Regions from separate parts of the Homo sapiens genome. Here region 1 is linked to region 2. The links are contacts of gene promoters, found by promoter capture Hi-C in blood cells and fetal thymus (Javierre and others, 2016). All regions are on one chromosome and are shown on one strand. The core of a region is centred on a gene start or on the middle of the fragment in contact, and the rest is flanking DNA. Distances in the headings are between cores, read along the strand shown.

Evidence for each region. Contacts are between HindIII fragments. The CHiCAGO score rates a contact against its expected background, and 5 or more counts as called.
Region 1: a contact is called between a fragment that was not itself captured here and the fragment with the promoter of LEF1-AS1 in region 2, in 6 of 17 cell types (activated CD4 T cells, naive CD4 T cells, non-activated CD4 T cells and 3 more). The highest score is 13.9, in activated CD4 T cells.

What each region holds. Positions count from the first base shown.
Region 1 is chr4:108,426,184-108,430,974 of GRCh38, reverse strand. No RefSeq gene overlaps it. Among named protein-coding and RNA genes, the nearest start is that of RPL34-DT, 190 kb to the left of the region's middle. The HindIII fragment of the contact is 5,329 bases long and covers 1-4,624 here.
Region 2 is chr4:108,165,932-108,170,716 of GRCh38, reverse strand. LEF1-AS1 (LEF1 antisense RNA 1) reads right to left here and starts at 3,192. Exons shown (of 3, transcript NR_029374.1): 1 at 2,884-3,192. It overlaps LEF1 (lymphoid enhancer binding factor 1), which reads left to right and starts at 1,785. Exons shown (of 12, transcript NM_016269.5): 1 at 1,785-3,162. The coding sequence starts at 2,950. LOC124900752 reads right to left here and starts at 2,778. Exons shown (of 2, transcript XM_047416528.1): 1 at 1,815-2,778; 2 at 1-1,607. The coding sequence starts at 2,217. The coding sequence ends at 1,021. RefSeq lists enhancers at 1-25, 2,096-2,185, 3,213-3,714 and silencers at 1,786-1,835, 3,592-3,831. The HindIII fragment of the contact is 8,163 bases long and covers 1-4,785 here.

The DNA.
Region 1 (4,791 bases), core at 711-3,210, 260 kb before region 2:
CCACCTCAGCCTCCCGAGCAGGTAAGACTACAGGCACATGTCACCATGCCTGGCTAATTTTTTTTTTTATTTTTTTACAGAGATGGCGTCTTACTATGTTGCCCAAACTAGTCTCGAACTCCTGGCCTCAAGCAATTCCCTTGCCTTGGAATCCCATAACACTGGAATTATAGGCATGAGCCACCACACTCAGCCTGACATACTCATTTTTAAGCAAAGGACTTCTAAGTCATGGCTTGTTAATCTAACACCGACGATAACGTCCCAGGCAGAAGCCACAGCCCAGAAGACTTCCCAGCGTGGGAAGGCTTAGGAGACCAGCTGGCATCAGGCACATTCCACAGAAATACTGAGAAACTTGTGAAGAACAAACAGACCTGGCAGGAGCAAGAGGAAGATACCTGGCCTGAGTAGCACTAAATATGTCCCAATTAAACAGAACTACTATCCCAATTAAGCAACTGTCATGACCATTAATAAACACAAAAGGGTGTGTTGCACGATGGCCTGATTCAGTGCCGTTACTGATTTAGTGCACTGTAATGATTATTAATAATCCTCAGCTACTTCATGCTTCTCTGAGTGCTCTGGGAATTCACATTTGCCTGGATCCTTGAATGAAGATGATACTGGAAGTGAAACTCAAAGAGAATCATTTGGATGGCCGAAATAGGTCTGATGAAACTGCTGATACAGATGCCTGAGCATTTCATGGAATTCTGGGCCATTTCCTCTCCCTGGTCATCTCATGTCTTGTGATCTAACCAGCTCTTAGGGGTTCCTTGGTCAAGCACTCTGGCCCTGCTTCCTCCTTTCACTTGGCTGGCAAATCTCATATAGACTTCAATGGCGAAAAGCTGTCAACAGTTCATAAAAGGATCAAACACCTTAAGATGTTGTATACAAGTTCCAGTGATGTTTTCAAATATACTTCCTTTCCTAGTTCCTCACAGATAACCTTTTGGCATCCAGTGAAGTAACGTGGAGGGTAGATACCCAGTTCTGATTTGGGGAAATGTTTTCCACCCACTAGTTGTCATCATACATGGTTTGGTTCAACACATTTCATCAATGGAATCTTGTGATGTTCCTGTTAGCAACTTTTTTTTTTTCCTGGGGAATAGGGGTCAAGGAAAGGCCTTTCAAAGGAGGCCAACTGTAAAGAGCTGGGCTTACTTTCATGTCTGCCATCACAGCTCTTAACTATTGCTCCCCAAAGAGAAGCAAAAGAAAACACAGCTTTCCATGACACCTGTTCCTTTCATGCCAGCCTAGTTCCAAGGAAAAAGATTTTCCAAATCAAGTAGAGATTTCAGATGTTTTTTTTAAATTTCCAACTCTGAGTCTAAATATTGGTAAAGAGAATGCTTAAAGAGGACTTGAAAGATAAAAGCAAGGTGTTTTGCTAACATCATATCCATGGCTAGTGGGATTGTTTTGGGGTGTGTGTGCGTGCGTGTGTGTGCGCATGTGTGTGTGTTTTGATTTCTGGGACAGGAGGCAATGAATGGATAAACTAGCAAGGAAAAAGTGAGACTGGGCCATTAGCCCATTGGTAAGAAAATCACAATCTCTGGTAATCTATGAGAAATATTTCCTAAGGACCTTTTTTGAGACCTTGCAGCTTTTCTCAATTGGAGTTTCTCATGTGAACCACAAAACAGACAATGATTTAAGTGACTATTTTCTCAGTTCTCCCAAGATGGCACAGAGCTAGTACTATCCTGGAATATGCATAGAAGAGAAGGTAATTCGTTGTGTACAATGGATATCTTACAACAATTAGGGCTTAGTTCTATCCCTGAAATGGTTGAGGAAAACCATTAGAAAAACACCACACCCAAGGCCCATGCCTGGAGACAGACCAAATACAAATTGCCTTTCCAAGAAGCACAGATGACTAAAGTGGTTCAAAAATAAATGTATGTACATACTTGAAAGATAACTTTCATGTAGTCACAAAGTTTAGGGAAAATTCTTTCTGATAAATCTAAAAGTTCCAAAAGTCTTTTAAACCTTTCGATGACGGGGTTAAGAAAAAAATGATGTGCATTAAGGGCCGACTAAATGTTTCAGTTATAGCTGGGTGCAGTGGCTCTCACCTGTAATCCTAGCACTTTGGGAGGCTGATGGGGGAGAATCACCTGAGGCCAGGAGTTCAAGACCAGCCTGGCCAACATCACAAGACCCCATCTCTACAATTTTTTTTAAAATTAGCTGGGCAGGATTGTGCATGCCTGTAGTCTCAGCTACTCAGAAGGCAGAGGCAGAAGGATCACTTGAGCCCAGGAGTTCAAGGCTGCAGTGATCCATGATTGTGCCACTGCACTCCATCCAGAATGGCAGAGCAAGACCCTGTCTCCACACACACAAAAAAAAAATTAAAAAAAAAAAGGTTTTAGCTGTAAGTTAGACAATGTCTGTTGTCAAGGCTCTCATAATCATTGCAGGGAGGAGGACAAGCATACAAGATGGCCCTGGGAGCAAGAGACAGAGATAGATGAGAGAAAGATTAAGGAAATTAAGGAAATAGAATCTTTACGAGTTAGTAATCAACTCTATGTGTAGATTGAAGGAAGGAGCTAATTTGAGTGGTTGGTTTTTCCAGGCCTTAAATGGAAAATACATGAGGTAAAATTGATTTGTTGTGGTTGTCATTATTGTGGTTGCTATTGCCATGTGTGGTGGGAGAGATGGTGACAGCCAGCTTAGCGCTGGAAAAATTTGAGGTTCCATTAAGGCACTCAAATGAAAGTATACTGTAAATAGTTGGACACAGCTCTGAGTTTCAGGAGAGAGGTCTCACTGGAGATGCAGATCTGAGAATTATTAAAGATTGTGAAATATGTCCAGCTTACTCATGGAAGATGTGTTTACTGAGAAGAGGAAAGGTCTTTATTTTTGAAAACTTGAGAAAGAAAGCTGTATTTTCAGTTGCACATTCAAAAGATGATTTAAAAGCAGCCATCAGCAAAATCCATAGTATTAATCTGAGAAAACCTTTGCATGCTTGCTGCTTTAGGGACTAAATTCAACAGCTTTGACACTGTTTTCTTGGATGCAACTCCTTTTTCGCCTTTCAAATGCTATAATTCTCCAGTTTTCCCTAAGCACTTGACTTCCCTGAGAGAGACCCTAAAACCCTCTGTGCTTCAATATGTCCTCTTTGGAAATCCGTTTGATTATGCTGCCCATTGCAGGAGGAGATTAAATAGGAAGATTAGCTAATAGATTTTAATATAATTAGTATCCAAGTAGCCAAAATTTTGCCAGACTCTTGACAGCTTAAAATATCTACATCTGGCCGGGCATGGTGGCTCACGCCTGTAATCCCAGCACTTTGGGAGGCTGAGGCGGGTGGATCACGAGGTCAGGAGATTGAGACCATCCTGGCTAACATGGTGAAACCCCGTCTCTACTAAAAATACAAAAAATTAGCCGGGTGTGGTGGCAGGCGCCTGTAGTCCCAGCTACTTGGGAGGCTGAGGCAGGAGAATTGCTTGAACCCGGGATTTGGAGGTTGCAGTAAGCTGAGATTGTGCCACTGCACTCCAGCCTGGGCGACAGAGCGAGACACCTTCTCAAAAAGAAAAAAAATCTACATCTACTCTTGTGACAAAACAGACAACTAGGATAATATGAAATTTTAAACACTGACTTCTGTCTATAAACCATTACACAAAAACGTTCTCATGACAAATATTGAAACATTGTGTATGCATGACAAATACTGAAACATTGTCTACATTGCAAAATACTAAGAAAATAATGTAATTTGAAAAGTAAAATTTGGCATACCGTAAAAATGAGAGATTACATATAGTTACTTTCACCTAGGTAAGTGAATAAAGATATCAAACATTAGTGATAATATTCAAAATTATATGTAGTAATTAATTGGTGTAAAAAATCAATGAGTATTATAGATTAAAATAGATTGTTTTTTCTAAATGAAACAAAGTAATTAGCTCCAATGTCTTCATAAATATACTCCCCCTCACAAAAGGTTCCTTACTATGTAGATTCAAATCCTTGCTCCATAGCATAACCTTGGGCAAATTATTTGACTTCTCTAAGTCTCAACTTTCTCATTTTACAAATGAGAAATACCATTAGAACTTTTGGTTAAGGCCAGTGTAAGGAATCAATGAGAGAACAGAGTCTGGTACGTATGTTCAATAGATATTGAAGTGATGATGCCTGAAAGTGGTTTTGAATTGAGATGTGACTCAAAACCACACTTTATGAAAACAGAACATTAAACAGCATTATAAATTACAAGACTTTTACAATATGACACTGATGGAGAGTCAGAGCTGCTGCATTTGGCTGCGAGTCTGTGCACTGAATAATTCCAGGGCTCCATTTACAGATATGGTGACATGCACAGAGCCTGCAGTATTTATGCAATGCAATGGTCCTGGCTAGAAAAAGAAATTAACCCACATGGAAAAGAACTTTTCTTCCCTCTCGGAATTCACAAAGAGTGGTTTTTCTTCATTTAATCTTAGACTTCTTAACCTCTGTACACAGTTTTTCACTTCTGCTACTTTACCTAAATCAATGATTCCAAATAAATATCTCCGTGGGCCAGGAGTTGAAAAAGTATTGTGTGCACTAAGCTTGCTATAATCAAAAGAAAGAAGCAGCATTACCTAAAGCTATTCATATTCAAATGGTTTTGAAACACTGCATAGACCAAATAAAACACATTTGTATGCCTTAGCACACTAATCAACTTTGTGGCCTTGTTTGAGTCATGTAATTTCAGTTTTTTTAATCTAGAAAAGT
Region 2 (4,785 bases), core at 1,943-4,442:
GGGACACTACTCACACTGGTGCCTAACTTTAAGGGAAGTGACATACCACCATCATCCAAAAACAAAAATTGGGTTTCTCACACACTGTAGCAGAATATACTCTTTTTCTTCTCTTGAGGCATAGCATTGTCAGCTATTAAAAATGGATTTAATGTTTTAATTTTCCTGGATTCCTTCACCAACCCCTTAATTTCACCCCAATCTTCCAGATAGAATTTACATGTGACTACTGGCCATGTTGTAGGGACCAATTGGATCCTTTGTAAAGTTTTAAAAATTGCTTCCTAGTAAATTCTTATTCCCAAGAAGTAGTCGTTATTAGTAGGTGAAGTCATTAGTGCTCACTTAGATACAGCATTGTAAAAATCTTTACCCATTCAATGTTCAGCAGCCTGAAATTTCACCTTTAGGAAAAAAAGAGGGATCTTTGCCAGACAATTCCTATATAATGGAGCAAAATCTGATTCTGTAGTGTTTTGCTTGTTTTCGATTTAAGGGAGATGAAGATACATTTCTTTATGTCCTTTGTTTACTGTTCTGAAGTTTTACAGATGGTTACTGTATTGGATATAATAATTTTGCCTAGATTTTTAACTGAGGGGGTTTGAGAACCAAGGGACAAAATGTAATGTGTTTTCAAACTTCAGCTTCCCTTCTGCTGTAACTTTCACAAAGTATCTCCTGAAAACTCCTGTCTTTGTACAAAATTCATCAAAGAGACAGTGGAGACTGGGGAATTTTTGAGGTTGTATTCGGATTGGTGTCTTCAAGGGTCCCTTTCAGTTCGCAGTCCAAGGTGCCAGGGACTACCCCGTCCTCCCTCCCTCTTCTGGCTTTGCTCTCCTGAGTCCTTTTGCCTTCTCTTCCCCCTTCTTGGATTATCTTTTCATTCTCGATGAGGTTCCCACACACTGCGGTGTGTGTCTCTGAAAACCCACTGGAGACCTAGCACAACTCTCCGTACATCCCGTGGTGAGAACAGAATGAAAGATATATTGTTTAAAAAGCAATAATTAAAATCTAGTCTTCAGTTCCTTCTTCCTCGTCATATTTTTTCTCCGTAAGCCTAGAGATTTTATTTTCACTAGTGTGTTCCCTTGTCTCCAAAGAGCGTGTGTGTGATATTATATTCGGGAAAGCTACAACTCTCTTTTCCTTGTCCTTCTGTTCTCTCTTAATAGTTGAGCAATGTCTGTTATATTTTCCCCTTTTCCTTTTTTTCTCAGTCCCAGATTCCCGCCTCTCCCCACTGTCAGAGCATCTATCAATGTGGTGTCCATCACAGCGGCAGCGGCTTTCTCTTTCATCTTCCTCCCTCTGCCAGAGCCAGGGAGGGAGAGTGGGAGGCGTCAAGGAGGTAGGGGAGAGACTGGCAGAGGAAAAGGAGTGGGTGGGTGGGGGCCAAGTAAATAGATACTTAGATGATGAAGTCAAGCCACTGCGGCAATGTTTCTTGTCAGTTTCACGCGGGCAAAGCGTGCCTTTCGGTGGGTTATAAGCAGCGCCCGGTCCTTCCTTCTCTCGCCAAGTTGCCTGATCCTTCCCTCCAGGCGCGCGCGCACACACCACACTCACACACCCCAAAACCAAGACTCGTCCTACAGGATCTGGGAAAAGAAAAAGAAAAAAAAGCCCTCAATCACCACCTCCTTCTCGCCGACTCCCCCTCACCCCCCGCCTCCCCTCCAGCGGGCAGCCAAGGAGAGCTAGAGGCGGGGGAGGGGAGAGGGAGGAGAAGCGACGCAAGTGGGTAGCTTTTCAGCGCCGGCGAGGCGCGGGAGGAGGAGAAGCAGTGGGGAGGCGCAGCCGCTCACCTGCGGGGCAGGGCGCGGAGGAGGGACCCGGGCTGCGCGCTCTCGGGCCGAGGAACCAGGACGCGCCCGGAGCCTCGCACGCGGCCAAGCTCGGGGCGTCCCCTCCCCTCGGCCGGGCGAACTCAAGGGGCGCAGCTCTTTGCTTTGACAGAGCTGGCCGGCGGAGGCGTGCAGAGCGGCGAGCCGGCGAGCCAGGCTGAGAAACTCGAGCCGGGAACAAAGAGGGGTCGGACTGAGTGTGTGTGTCGGCTCGAGCTCCGGGCAGAGGCATTTGGGCCCGAGGCCCCCGCTGTGACTCCCCGAGACTCCGCAGTGCCCTCCACTGCGGAGTCCCCGCGCTTGCCGGCAAAAACTTTATTCTTGGCAAACTTCTCTTTCTCTTCCCCTCCTCCTCGGCCCCCATCTTCTGCTCCTCCTCCTTCTCTAGCAGATTAAATGAGCCTCGAGAAGAAAAACCGAAGCGAAAGGGAAGAAAATAAGAAGATCTAAAACGGACATCTCCAGCGTGGGTGGCTCCTTTTTCTTTTTCTTTTTTTCCCACCCTTCAGGAAGTGGACGTTTCGTTATCTTCTGATCCTTGCACCTTCTTTTGGGGCAAACGGGGCCCTTCTGCCCAGATCCCCTCTCTTTTCTCGGAAAACAAACTACTAAGTCGGCATCCGGGGTAACTACAGTGGAGAGGGTTTCCGCGGAGACGCGCCGCCGGACCCTCCTCTGCACTTTGGGGAGGCGTGCTCCCTCCAGAACCGGCGTTCTCCGCGCGCAAATCCCGGCGACGCGGGGTCGCGGGGTGGCCGCCGGGGCAGCCTCGTCTAGCGCGCGCCGCGCAGACGCCCCCGGAGTCGCCAGCTACCGCAGCCCTCGCCGCCCAGTGCCCTTCGGCCTCGGGGGCGGGCGCCTGCGTCGGTCTCCGCGAAGCGGGAAAGCGCGGCGGCCGCCGGGATTCGGGCGCCGCGGCAGCTGCTCCGGCTGCCGGCCGGCGGCCCCGCGCTCGCCCGCCCCGCTTCCGCCCGCTGTCCTGCTGCACGAACCCTTCCAACTCTCCTTTCCTCCCCCACCCTTGAGTTACCCCTCTGTCTTTCCTGCTGTTGCGCGGGTGCTCCCACAGCGGAGCGGAGATTACAGAGCCGCCGGGATGCCCCAACTCTCCGGAGGAGGTGGCGGCGGCGGGGGGGACCCGGAACTCTGCGCCACGGACGAGATGATCCCCTTCAAGGACGAGGGCGATCCTCAGAAGGAAAAGATCTTCGCCGAGATCAGTCATCCCGAAGAGGAAGGCGATTTAGCTGACATCAAGTCTTCCTTGGTGAACGAGTCTGAAATCATCCCGGCCAGCAACGGACACGAGGTGAGCGGGCCGCTGCCCCAGTTCCGAGAGGCGTGGCGGGTCCCTGGGAAACTCAGAGAGGGAGGAAGGGAACGAAGGCGCCCGGCCGCCCGGCTGAGGGTCCCGAGTAGATCCCTCGTTTGTTTTGGGGTGTGTGCGTAGCTGGGCCCCCGGTCCGCAGTGTGTGTGTGTGTGTGTGTGTGTGTGTGTGTGTGTGTGTGTGTAGGATGGGAGGTAGAGGGGCAGGGTAACTTATTCCAAATGGATCAGTTTAGGGGGTTCGGTGGCTGAACGGTTGGTTCGCGGGCAGGAACCCACAATGTTTCGCCTTCGGTCTTTTTGTTGGGCTGAGGGGTGCCGTGCTTTAAAGCGAGTAGGGCTGAATAACGCTACTGATAAATTCTTCCGTGGGACGGAAAACAAAGTGCACACGCTATCTCTTGGTAGATGTCTCTGCAAAAGTGCGTTAAACCACCAAAGGCTTAGGTGGAGACGAGCAGAGCCACAGGCGGGAGGAAGGGGAGGCGGGCGTGGGCTGGGGCAGGCGGGGCCGTCCCTACCACCGGTGAGCCGGGCCGCGGGGAGCAGGCCGGCCGATGGGGCGCGCACCCGGGCTGCGGGGGCGGTGCGGGGTTCAGTCCCTGCGGCCCCAGCGCCTGGGCTAGCAGCTGGGAGCTGTGGGTGCGCCGAGCCGACCCACCGCAAGGGTACACCCTGGCTGTACCGCCCCCAACTCTAGTTTTCTCCAACCGCCATCACTTGGAAACAAACCCACAACTTTTATTTGGGGTTTGGGACCGGATCAGGCCTTAAATCTACGCAGAAGAAAGGCGGAGAAGCAGCGGAAGCCGGGCACTAGTCCTGCAGGGTGGAAGGCGCTTTATCGGGTCTTCTGGCCCGCTGCGGGCGATAGAGCTGGTAACCTGAGTAGAGTAAATAGAGACACGTGGGTGCTGGCTAGAGAAAGCGCGGAGCAGGGCCGCGCTGGAGGGCTGTTTGAAGCCTAGTCCAGAGCTGGTCTAGGGGGCGGATGGACCCTGATACCCGACACTCCACTGGTCACCCTTGTTCCACAACTGGGAAACCCTCTGGAGGAAATCCGGTAGAAAAGTCCTGACACCCGAATGATTTAACCAACGCCTTTTCCCTCCAAAGAAACTTGGAGGATATACCTTTTTTTCCTTAAATGGCATCTTTCTACCCCCAAAAAGAAAGTGTGTGGTTTTGAGGGCGGGGACATTTTGGGTTTTAAACAGCGCGTTTAAGAACACCTCAGATCTGCCTTCTCTATCCCAATGGCAGAGGTGAGTACGAATTTTGAAAGGCTGGGGGCCTGCGTTCAGAGAACAGAATGGTGTTCTTTACCCGTTGAATCCAGTTTGAGCGGGCTGGGGGCGGGGGTAGGGTGCACCTAACCCCGCGTAAAAGATTTGTGACTACTGTGTGCTGGGAAAAGGAGGTCAAAGGGAGGACACACGTCCAGAGAACCGAATAACATCCAAAACACAGGCTTTTTGCCAAACTCTCCTATTTGTAGAGCAGCCTCTCTTTCTACCCATTTTGCTAGTCCTGCCTTAGTCCATAAATAATTTTGCCACCCACTTCATATTCTCCACAATTTTCTGGTCCGGGTGAAGGACACTG